Regions from separate parts of the Homo sapiens genome. Here region 2 is linked to region 1. The links are contacts of gene promoters, found by promoter capture Hi-C in human tissues and cell types (Jung and others, 2019). All regions are on one chromosome and are shown on one strand. Each heading gives the region's core, a stretch centred on a gene start or on the middle of the fragment in contact. The rest is flanking DNA. Distances are from core to core; before and after follow the strand shown.

The links. The method cuts DNA at HindIII sites, captures the fragments that hold promoters and counts their contacts. A contact is called where the count stands out against the background at its distance.
Region 2: a fragment that was not itself captured here is called in contact with the fragment with the promoter of MYOCD in region 1 in 1 of the 25 tissues and cell types used here (heart right ventricle).

What each region holds. Positions count from the first base shown.
Region 1 is chr17:12,661,203-12,667,423 of GRCh38, forward strand. It overlaps MYOCD (myocardin), which reads left to right and starts at 4,688. Exons shown (of 14, transcript NM_001146312.3): 1 at 4,688-5,041. The coding sequence starts at 4,987. The HindIII fragment of the contact is 11,548 bases long and covers 928-6,221 here.
Region 2 is chr17:12,611,244-12,617,335 of GRCh38, forward strand. The region is part of intron 3 of LINC00670 (long intergenic non-protein coding RNA 670); the gene reads left to right. Among named protein-coding and RNA genes, the nearest start is that of MYOCD, 52 kb to the right of the region's middle. The HindIII fragment of the contact is 3,123 bases long and covers 3,202-6,092 here.

The DNA.
Region 1 (6,221 bases), core at 3,438-5,937:
GTGAGAGAATAAAAAGAGAAAATGGACAAGAGGTGATACTAGAGACAGGTACTGAAGAACTCTTCATGTCTCAAGAAGACCATGAGATCCACTCACACAATAATGACCTTGGTGGGGAAGGGGATTTGCTAAGAGAGGACCACAGGGAGAATTCGAGGTCCTGAGAACAACATAGGTGAGCTGTCCCTCTGCTCACCACACTATCCCCTGTCTGTGACCCAGCAGCTGACCTCATGGTGCTCCTAGGAAAGGAGATGTGTAAGGGGTCAAGATTTAAGGTGGTGACTCTGCACTGTACTTTGAACTCACACCTATGGACATAATCACTTCCATTGTGGCTGAAGGCTGAGGACCACAGCTATGGAAGGCAGAATTGAAAGGTGACCTCTCAATGAGCTATCCCCTTGGATAATCTTCTCTCCTTCAATATGGGAGAGACCAGTGACTGTGATGGATGCACTGTTATGATTAGGTTACATTATTTGGCAAAGATGAAGAGGTTTTTCAGACATAATTAAAGTTCCTAATTACTATGACTTTGAGTTAAAAGAAAGATTATCCTGGGTAAGCCTGACCTAATCAGGTGAGCCCTTTAAAAGAGGACATTCTCAGCCAGGTGCGGTGGCTCATGCCTGTAATCACAACACTGGGAGGCCGAGGAGGGTGGATCACCTGAGGTTGGGAGTTGGAGACCAGCCTGACCAACATGGATAAACCCCTTCTCTACTAAAAATGCAAAAATTAGCCGGGGGTGGTGGTGCATGCCTGTAATCTCAGCTACTCAGGAGGCTGAGGCAGGAGAATCGCCTGAACCAGGGTGGCGGAGGTTGCGGTGAGCCGAGATCACGCCATTGCACTCCAGCCTGGGCAACAAGAGCAAAACTCTGTCTCAGAAAAGAAAGAAAGAAAGAAAAAGACATTCTCCTGCTGGCCTTGGAAAAAAGCAAGCCATTGTGAGTTCTAACACTGCAAAGACCTGAATTCTATCAATAACCAGTGAACTTGGAAGGGGACACTGAGCTTCTCATGGGACTGCCACCCTAGCCAGCGCCTTGAGTGCAGCATTGTTAGACCCTAAGCAGAGGTCCCAGATAATCCATGCCTGGACTCCTGACCATGAAAACTGTGAGATAATAAATATGTGCATTGTTTTAAGCTGCTAAATGTCTAGCAACTTATTACACAGGTAACTAACAGCAAAGGAGAGAAAGCCAAAATGAAGGGGAAAGGGACAGAATTGCTTGGAATCTTCATGAATGTTTGGAGATGGTTGGGGCAGGGGAAGTAAAAAGAAGGGTCCAAAACACACCAGGGCCGGGCACGGTGGCTTACACCTGTAATCCCAGCACTTTGGGAGGCCAAGGCAGGCAGATCACCTGAGCGCAGGAGTTCAAGACCAGCTTGGCTGGTCTTGATAGGGGGAAGCCCTATCTCTACTAAAAATACAAAATCATCTGGGCGCAGTGGCATGCATCTGTAATCCCAGCTACTCGGGAGGCTGAGGCAGGGAGAATCTCTTGAACCCAGGAGGCAAGGTTGCAGTAAGCCCAGATCGCACCACTGTACTCCAGCCTGGGCAACAGAGCGAGACTCTGTCTCAAAATAATAAAAAATAATAATAAAAAACACACCAAAATTGTTCTGGGCACCCCACATGTATTCTTTCATTTAAATATCCCAACTCTTCCTGGAAGTAAATATTTCTAACTCCATTTTACAGATAAGACGTTGAGTATCCCAGAGAACTCCAATAATTCACTCCAAAGTACAGGGTTATCCTGATGGAAAGAAGATCTTTCTCACACTGGAGGCTCATGTCTTGCCTTTGTGTCACATCACGGGCTTACTCCAAGCCCCAGGAAAAGAAGGTCATGGAGTAGCCTGGCAAGGAAAACATACTCCAAGGTGGTGGGTGACATTGCAGGACAGAGCCTGGCAGCATGCCGCTGCTGCATTAGCCTGCTGCTTTTCGAGCCTAGCAGCTTAGGAGTTCTGTTCTCCTTGAGAACATCTTCTCCAAATTCCACCCCTCTCAAAAATTTTTTTTGTTTTACCAAAAGTGCTTGGCTAGAGAGGAGAAATGATGAACTTCTTTATGAGCATATTTATAACCATAGATATTCCAAGCCATAGGAGGTATAAATTTCAGGATATATGTCAGTAGCTCCACACTGTGATGGGAAAATTGAGGGGGGCTATGGTTATTGGCATTTCCCAAACTCACTGAAAAAAAGAAACTGCTTCCCTGCAAACACACATACACACACACACACCACACTCCACACATACACACACGCGCGCACACACACACACACACACACACACTCCCCCTAGGCCTGCAGAGAGAAAACAACTTACTCCTGGCCAGCTCATCTAGGTCATGCAGACCCTACAATCAATGCTGGCTTCAGCTAATTTCATCCCAACTTGCACTGAAAAAATAATTCTCTGCCAAGTTGCCATGTATCTCTTCTCAGCCCCAAAGCCTTCGGGATAAAAATCTGTTTGGCTTTTTCTTTTTTCTTTTTTTAATGTTGCTCAAAATAGTTTTCTCTGCTCAGATAATTTTGCAATATTCCTTATCCCACCAATCTCTTCCCTGTAGAGTACCTCCCTGCCACACACATCTCAAAGCCGGTCAGAGCCCTTCCAGACTCCTGTGTGCACCCGTTCCCAAACCTCCCTCCACTTTCCTTCTTCTCATTGAAGACCAGGGGGCTGGGGGTTGACTGAAGACCAGGAGAGGTAGAAGAGAAAGAAAGATCTCAGGCGGAATCATGCCCTCTCCTCCCATGTTCATGTCCTAATCCCAGGAATCTGTGAATAGGTTACATTATACAGCAAAGGGAATCCAGGCAGTGGATGAGATTAGGGAGGATAATAAACTGACTTTATGATAGAGTTTATTTTTGCCGTAAGGTTAATGTAGAAGAGGGAAGCAGAAGGTGGGGAAGGGAGCATTAAAGCGGTAAGATGCAATAGGAACTTGACCCACGATTGCTGGCTTCAAAAATGGAGGAAGCGGCCATGAGCCAAGTACTCGGGCGGCCTCTAGAAGCTGGAAAAGGTGAGGAAATCGATTTTCCCCTAGAGCCTCCAGAAACTAACGCAGCCCCGCTGACACCTTGATTTTGACCCCCTGAGACCCACTTTGGACTTCTGCCCTCCATAACAGCAAGATAATTAATGTGTGCTGTTTTAAGCCACTACATTCGTGGTAATTTGTTATAGCAGGAATGGGAAAATGATGTTACGTAATCGCTGAGATGCTCCTGCACACGAAATCAGCCTATAGACAGGCGCCCAGGCCAGGACTAGATCCCCAAAGGGAACATGGATGGATTGTTCTTCCTCGTCTCTGACACATCAGCAAGAAGGTGTCTATCCCTGAAGACCTTATTTACAAAATCGCCCCGCTCAGATCCAGAGAGTAAGCTCTAGGGCTAACCCCTCTAATGTGTTTTCAGCAACAGGGGATGGGGCAGAGGCCGGGACCAGGACATTAGAGGTTGTCCCCATGAGCTATTGTCACCTCGGGTCTCCATCTGTCACCGACTGATCTTTTAAGGACTCGTAGTATGCAGGCAGGCTTGTGTGTAATAGACGACACCCGGGGTCCACGTGCATATGAAGTTGCAAATAAGCCCTAATTATATACGTATACAGAGTGGTTTTTATGTTCTGAGCCACCAACTATTTAACGGGCTTCTTGAGAGATGGGTCTTTGTTTTATTTCATTGATCCATGTGCCTATAACACCTCGGCCAGATGCACAAATAACTCTGGGTCGGTTACGGAATGGATTTTCCCCTAAGGAGAGACTCATTCGCAGGCAAAGTTTTTGAGCCTTCCCAAGCTAAGCCCAGCCCGAGCTCTGACTTGCCCCCTGCTCCAGAGCCCCTCCCTATTTAGAGCCCAGTAGGTTTTTCACTCCAACTCAGGTATCTTTTCCCATTCCCTCGGGGTTGTGAGGTGGGAGCGTTGTGTCGCAGCTGGATCTCCAGATGCGCCGTGTCACATTTGTCCCCCCAAAAAGCATATCCTAGAAAATGAAAGCCTTTCCATTTCCCCGTGGAAATGCATCTAAGTCCAGTATTGGAGCTGCGAGATACAGAATCGTCTCTGCCAGTGCCCTGAGCCCCTCAAACCGAGGGGAATGCGTGGGCTTCGGTCCGTCGGAAGCTTTTCTTCTCAGGGGTCCAGCTTATTTCCAAATTGCCCCGCGTGAACTGTCCCGCGGGCGCGCACGCCCTTTCGCGCAGCCTTTGCAGCCGGCTGGCGGGAGATCCCGGCCGCTTCCCTTTCGCCGGCAGAAGCCCGGCCGGGGAAGCCCCGGCTGCGCACGCCCATCCCCAGGACCTCGGAGCTCCCAGCGGCTGCCGCAGCCCCGCGAACCACCTGCAAGCCCCGCGGCGTCGCAGCCCTTCCTTCTTTCCTCCGGGCATCCGCTCTTTAGCTCGCGCCCCTCTCCCAGATTCCCGACCCCTGGCCCTGCTCCCGCCCTCTGTGCCTCGGCGGCTGCGGGGCCCGCCGCAAAGAGTTAAGAGCCGGTTCCCGAGACGGCTTCGGCGGCTCCGGGTCCCCAGACCCCGCTCGCCGCTCCTGATTGGCTGAGCGCCTGTCAGTAGTAAAGGGTATCAGATGGCAAAGTTGGGACCTTCATAAAGGCGTGGTGGCGATTCTCCGCAATCGCCGGCAGCCTATGACATCAGACAGGAACGCCTGGGATGCCGCGCTGCTCCTGGCCAACCTCCGAGGAGGAGGAGGGTCCCGCCGGCTAAGAGTTAATTAGCCCCGCACGGCGAGGGGGGAGGCGCCAGTTTTCTGGGGACACTGGCTGCCACTGTACTCCTACCCAGGGGAGCTCACGGAGAGTTGGATGAATTCTGGGTTGTTAGCTGCGGTCAGCTGGGCTCCCGGGAGCCTGTTGCTGGTGGAGAACAGGGGGCGCCTGGCCAAGGGACCAGCGGCTTGCTGAGACTCAACATGACACTCCTGGGGTCTGAGCATTCCTTGCTGATTAGGAGCAAGTTCAGATCAGGTAGGGCTAAGGCATTTAGCATTCCTTCTTAAACTTTCCTCTTCTGCAATTCTCAACTCTAGAACTGCTTTCCAATAAATGTTTCAAAGCCTGCCAGGTCTACCTCAACTTTGTTCCCCAAAAGCACATTGTGGAAGCGAAGAGTTTTGTTTGACTTTGGGGGCCTTTCGTGTCTTCCGTTGTAAGTGCTTTGGGTGGTCGAGTGTGGTTGTTCATCTGTGAAAAGGCCAATCCTTTTATTTTATTTTCTCTGCATCTATGAATAGAAATTTTGGAGGGGTACATTCAGAGGGAGCAACTTTGGAAATGAACAAATAAGGGATTTCAAGTTTGGAAGCTGCGTAGTATCGGTTATAATCGCTGAGAAGATGAACCTGATGTTGTGTGTTAGGTACAGGGGTCACTTAAAATGTAGCTAATCCAAACAAATGTATTTCCCAAAAAAAGTCACTTGGGGGAAGTAAAAATAGCAAATTTGGAGCACACCAAGTATTTAAAATGACATCACTGTAGAAAAAAAAAGAAAGCCCAGTGCCACAAATATTTTTTCCCAAACCATCTGATATTTATAAATAGAGAATTTCCCCCAAAATTTCTGTGTTAGTGGCACATGGAGAAACTTCTCAAAGGACGCTGAGTGGAGGTGAGTGGAAGGGAGAGACGGGAGCTCTAACCGCTTCTCCAGAAGGGCTTGTACACGCGCCCATGGAAGGTGTCTGTGTGGGTCTCCACGTTTAGACAAAGCAACACTTGACTTCTGAAGTTATTTTTCAGTAGCTCTGTGTATAATGTTGGTTTTAGAAAACTGGTTAACAACACACTCAACAATGTAGGACTTCTACTTAGATTGATGACTTTTAGGAGAACTCTGATGTGAACATTAGACATAACAGGTGTCAGAAAGATGCTGGCATAGGTTGCTAAGCTAAAGTTTCCTTAGCCCTTCTACATGGGGCCAACTCAGTTGTTTCACTTGGGATGGATGGTTCAAAAAGGAAAAATGTAGATGCTGGGAGGTAAGGTTCATCTGTGACTTTCTTAGATGCCCTTGGTTTTTAGATGCCTGTGGAGTCAACTGGAGATTTTCTTAGGATCTTCATTGTTGATGCAAGTTGAAAACTCAAGAGCTTAGGCGGTCACAAGTCTCACTGCCCCTGAAGCTCTGGGATGAGTCCGCCAG
Region 2 (6,092 bases), core at 3,513-6,012, 50 kb before region 1:
AGTTACTCCATCAACAGCAAAAAAATTCATATGTAGGAGATTATAGGAAAGCAGGAAGATTTACTGTTTTGGCAGGAAAAAAGGGAAAACACCAGCCATGATCAAGAAGTCAACAATCCTTAACAGAGTTGTAAAATTCAGTTCTGGAAGCAATGGCGGAATTCATAACTAGTTATTCAATCTATGTCCTTGTAACGGGACGGTCACGTCAAAGGAGAAACTGGACTTGGATGGGAGAAAAGGTTTGAAGTGATTTCTCACAACGTTAAGTCAAATTTGATTCCAAAGCATTCCAAGGGGCTATTTCAAGTCCTTTTATTGTTTTATACTTGTTCAATACCATTTCAGGCCAAATGAGAATGCATCAAGAAAGTCTTTGTTTACAGAGATGGGAGAGATGCAACAAAGTCCTATCAAGTCTGTAAGGAGAAGAAAAATCCACAGGTTGGAATTCTAGGAAACAGGCTCTACACAGATGGATGTGTCACCTGCCTCTGTTTACCCATCTTACTTTAACACAGATTAGCTGCCTAAAAAACATCCAGGTGACTCTACTGGGTATAGACATCTTGTGTGCAGTTCTTACAAATCAGTTCTAGGGAAAACAAAGCTGACTGTCAAAAGCCCGTTAATAGCAGACAAATTCTTCTGCAATCCTTCAAGCAATGTTTCTCAACTGTGATGTACATACATATCTCCTAGGAGGTATTGCAAAAATACAGATTCTGATTCAGAAGGTCCGGGGTGGGGCCTGAAATTTCATATTTCCAGATGAAATGCTGTTGGTCCAAGTCACACCTTAGCAAGTTGACTGTTTCTATACCATCCATAGATGGAGAAAAATCTCAATGCCCTTTCTCATCTAGAACTGTAGGAAAAAGCTATTAGCTAGAGAAGCAATGATTGTCCTTGTGTAGAATATGGGTTTAATTCTAGGCTGCCTGCCCTTGATGGATGAGCCTTATAGGTAATCACCAATTTAAAATAAAGAAAGATCAGTGTATAATTTTGTAGTCCCTGTCATCTGTCACAGTTATAAAATGCCATGTTGTGAAATGCTGAATTTACTCAGAACCCCCCCAGTTACTGGCAAAGTGTCCATGCTAAGTTTCTAATTTCAAATATGCTTTGTTGAAAAGCTTAGAAATTGTATCACTTCATGGAAAAGAGAGCACTGAGAAATTATATGACTTCATGGAAAAGAGAGCAAGCACTGCACTGAGATTCAGAAGACTTGCAATACAGTCTCAGTTTTGTCATTCATTTGCTGTGTGACATTGAGTCATGCCTTCTACCCTTCTGAGGCTCAAATATGAATTAAATAGCGCCAACTAGATGCCTTCTAGGAATGCTTTCAACTCTAATGTTCCACGTGCTATATAACATATGGAAACATAATTTAAGTTCTCACTAGCGATCAGGAAGTTGCCTTGTTAGTGGGATGCGGTTCATCATTAGTGTTAATATCTCTGGTTTTATATCAGTGAGAACAAAGAGGTGAGAGTGTAATAGTTGAGAGCACTGGCTTTGAAGTCAGGCAGAGTTGGGTTCAAATCCTGCTGCCTCATGTTCTAGGAGTCTCATGGATTACAAAATTGACTTAATTTGTCTGAAGTTCAGTTAGGTCATCTGTAAAGTCCGATCTGTGAAATGGGTAAGAAAATAAACCAGCCTCTTTGGAATATTGTAAGTAGAGTGGCCTAATGTTGTGGTTTGACGGGAACTGAGGGTTTTCCCTGGAAATGGGACTTTCAGTGCTAAAAGCAGAACAGTTCGAGGCAAACCGGGATGGTTGGCCACCCTACAGTCACAAGTGTCACCTGAGATAAACCTGTAAAGCACATAGAAAATATTCAATGGACACTAGCCATGGTTGTGAATAGCACATAAATATAGAGATATCAGGGTGAATTTTTTTTTTTTTTTGAGACAGAGTTTGGCCCTCGTTGCCCAGGCTGGAGTGCAATGGCACAATCTCAGCTCACTGCAACCTCCGCCTCCTGGGTTCAAGTGATTCTCCTGCCTCAGCCTCCTGAGTAGCTGGGATTACAGGCATGCACCACCACGCCCGGCTAATTTTGTATTTTTAGCAGAGACAGGGTTTCTCCATGTTGGTCAGGCTGGTCTCGAACTCCTGACCTCAGGTGATCTGCCTACCTCGGCTTCCCAAAGTGCTGGGATTACAGGCGTGAGCCATTCAACCAGAGCACGACCCAACTTTGCCTTTTTGACTCTAGATTTCTACTTTTTAAAGGTTATATGGTTTTCTTTCTTGAGAAACAGAGAGGACTGTGTAAATGTGACATATCAAGCCATACAAAATGGCTGCCTTTCTGCAAAATAAAATTTGAATCAAGGGACAGAATAGCCTCTTAATGATGAGCCCCCTACAAGCCTGGTTTGGGGATGCTGATGTGGCCACAGGCAGACATAGGCAGCACTCAGCAGCTCTGATGGATGCAACACCAGCCAGGAATGTGAGCAGCTGTCCTTTCTAACCCCGATGTCATTTGCTGAGGCAATGCCAACTTCCTTCTCTTCCATCAAAACATTCCAGAGTTCATCCTTGTCAGGCCATATACAGATATGTCTCCTACGATTTGCATAAGGCCATTGTTTCTGGAATTTGGGGATTTTCCAGCTAGAATGTCTCACGTATGCTATTCTGCACAGACAATTGAAGAGAATGCAGGAGCCAAATTCCCTTGTTATGGCTACTTCTGCCCTCTAACTGGTTCTCCTTTGGGAGCTTCTCTTCTCTTCCTTTCTACTCTCTGCCCACCTGGGCTACCCACTCCTCTGGGCTCAAGGTCCAATCAACCACACACAAAGCTTCAATTCTGGTTGTAAAGCTGTCAGTCACACCAGTTTCTCATATTTTCTGTCTTTGATTACTCTTAGTGTTATTTCTTCTCTAATTTCTCCTGTGGTTTATTAACTGCAATGTTGTCAACTTCATCCCAGCTTTAGGTGACCTGGAAACTATAACAGGACAACAGGTGATCTGTCCTGCTTGTCCAGGACAGTCCAGGATTGCACCTGTTGTCCCAGGTTACTAATTAATCGAACCCCCGTTTACTTTCAAAAATGTCCACGTTTGGAAGACAAACGATACAATCACACTATCCAGACCCAACCTCTCGAGTTCTACTTTCATCTGTTTTATATTGAGCAATGATCTCCCTTATAAGATTTTAATTTGAGTGTAACATTTTGATATGTTTGAACAAAACAAAATGAAAAATCAATCTTGCCAGAAAGGGCAAGACATTCATAAAAACAGCCAACTGATCAACCCGTTGTTTTGCCAGGCAGAGCGAAACATTTATGAAAACAGTCAACTGGTTTGAGGAGAAAATTCACCAAAAGCAATATAGCTAGAAGTCTAACATCTTAATGAGGAACAGTGCTCTTCGTCCAGACTTTATCGCTTTAGGTACAAGATGCCCAAAACACAAGTTTGTACCTTACGAGCAAAATTGTGAATTGTATATAGAAAAAAAAATAGAGGTGAATCACCAAGTAAATGGGTCATCAAAATGAATGTCTTCAATTCTACCTTAGGAGAAGCTTTTGGAGACAAGACTGGCAAATAAGTGGGCAGTATATATGACCCCATGGAAAGTCCTGGGGGTTTGGGATCCATCAAAGGACTGGAATTAGGATACTGACTTTTCTTCCAATGGTGTCCCTGCGGACAAATGGCTTAATGTCTCTGAACATTATTTTCATGACTTACGCTTTCATAAAAAGTTCAATTAACCATTGGTTTTCAAACTATGCTCTGCAGAGCCCAAGGATTTTTAGCAGAGGTGCCCTGTGCACCCTCAGGAGTTATACTTTTATTCGTTTTATATCAAGCAATGATCTCCCTTGTAAGATGAAAATTTGAGCTTAACATTTTGCTATGTTTGAACGAAAGATTTTGATGCAAAAATAAAACGTGAGCATTTATGGTTTAGGTAGCCTCTGAGCTCCCTCCAATTCTGGTATATGTGATTCTAAGGCCTTAGAAAATGTCAGCAGTTGGAGAACTATAGATAGAGATGAACAAAAGATTCCTCTGCTGTCTGCAAAGCCCTAAAGTAACTTGCTAATAAGTGCAGACCAAGAGGGCCTTAGGCCGTGTGCTCTGATCTATTAGAGAGGCTGATGGAGACCAGGGTGTGTCTGAGGAAAGTGCTAATACAGACATACAGAGCTGTGGCTGTGAGGTGTCTTCGCTGGAAAAGAGCATTCTGGGACTCTGAAAAGTGTTCCCCGAGATGTTCTCTATCACTCACAAAGACCCGGAGATTCTAAACTGGTCCAAAACTGATTCTAGATTTTTGGCAAAAGGCCTGGTGTCTGAAAATAATTACCAGTATGTCCAAAATTCTTTAAAAGTTCTAATAATAATAAAGTCTGGAGCATTCTAGCACTTGGGGGAGTGGGGTAGCATGTATAAAGTTAAAGAGATAAACACTCATCTGGGGTGAAAATTAAAATTCAGAAGAATTAGGTAAGATACCATCACGAGTGCAAAGGTAGATCAGGAAATCATGCTCCTTTCCTGTATTTCAGGTATCAGGAGAGAAAAACAGATAGTGGAAAGTGTGTGGCAGAAGCGCTTGCTTTCACTGGCCTGGAGGAAAAGTCAAATTTTGAGTCAGAAGAAAAAGGGTAGCAACACTGAGAAGTCTGTGTCCTGGCTGCTTGTGTGGTCAGGTGTACTGCTGGTAATCAAACTATGAACCTGGGGTCCATATGTCCTTCTCTTTATAAAAGTACGAAATAAGTTAGGGCTTAAGATTGAACTGCAATGAAAATTATTTTTGCTTTCCTTTTTTTATCTTAAAAATTTTTAAAGGGATTTTCCAAGTTTATATACTGTTTATCTCATATCTGGAACACTTTTAAATTTTGGTTAGATTTGGAGTAAGTTTGATTATAGTCTTTTCTATAGTCTTTTCTTGATCCTTAAAGAATGATTCATTTGATTGCTGTTTCTTATTTCACTGAACTTTTAATCATGTCACAATACTATTTTTAGGAGTGTCTATGGATTTCTACTGCCTGAGAAGATAAAGCCCCAAGTCTTCACATTAAAGACTCTCATAATCTCACATTGGCTTTCTTTTCAGTCCTTATGATCCAGAAACACCAGGTTACCCATTAGTTGCCAAGCACATTCTTTACCGTCTTCTTAGTGTCCATTCATCTACCCTCCCGCCACCATATCTCCTCCTTCATGAAGCTTTCCCAGCACAGGAACCCCAGGTGGAATGAATCACTTCTGCTCCCAGAATCCTCTGCTCCCAGTGATGGCCATTGTGGATCCTGCTGTTCCTATGTGTATAACCCCCTTGCTGTGTAGGCTGTAAGAAGCATGAGGACAGGGACTGTGCCTATTCTTTTTTATAACTGGCATTTAACATAGAGCCTGGCATATGACAGATGTCCAACAAATCATTTTAGAAGAAAATAATTTTCTTAATTAATGAATTTTTCATTGCATCTAAAAATTAGGGGGCTGAATAGTCCTTTAAATGGTGGATGCTTCTTTGGTCTGTTTTAACTTTATAAACTTACTTAAGTGGTTGTAAAATGAAGAGTGCTGTAAATCTGTTAAGACTACATCGTTTCAGTTAAGGATGACTGATTAAGCACATGTTTTTATTCCTACTCCTCTTCCAAATGTCCATAGAACTGCTATTCCCCCCACACAGAAAAACTAGTGAAAATATCTGCATTAATGCTGCAAAATAGGGAAAAGCATTATCCACATGAAAACAACTTGGAGGAATTTCTGCTGAATATAGTGCAGAGGCAAGAAGTCAGATGAAACCCACCCATAGTTGAAGATATGCAAAGTAGCCCCCACCGGAGCAGCCAATGGAAAAGCACCCCTGACGTGAGCTCTTGGAAATCTCCTTGAATCAAGGCCTTGGTGCGCCATCTATAAACGCTGCTAAAATGTCGTGGATATAAATGGAAAAGTTGAGGCTGGTTGACAAAGTTGATAAAACCTCTAAAAGATGATTCAAATGAACAAAATGTGTCAAAAACAAATTATGAGATAATCAGGGAAATGTGAACCCAGACTGGATATT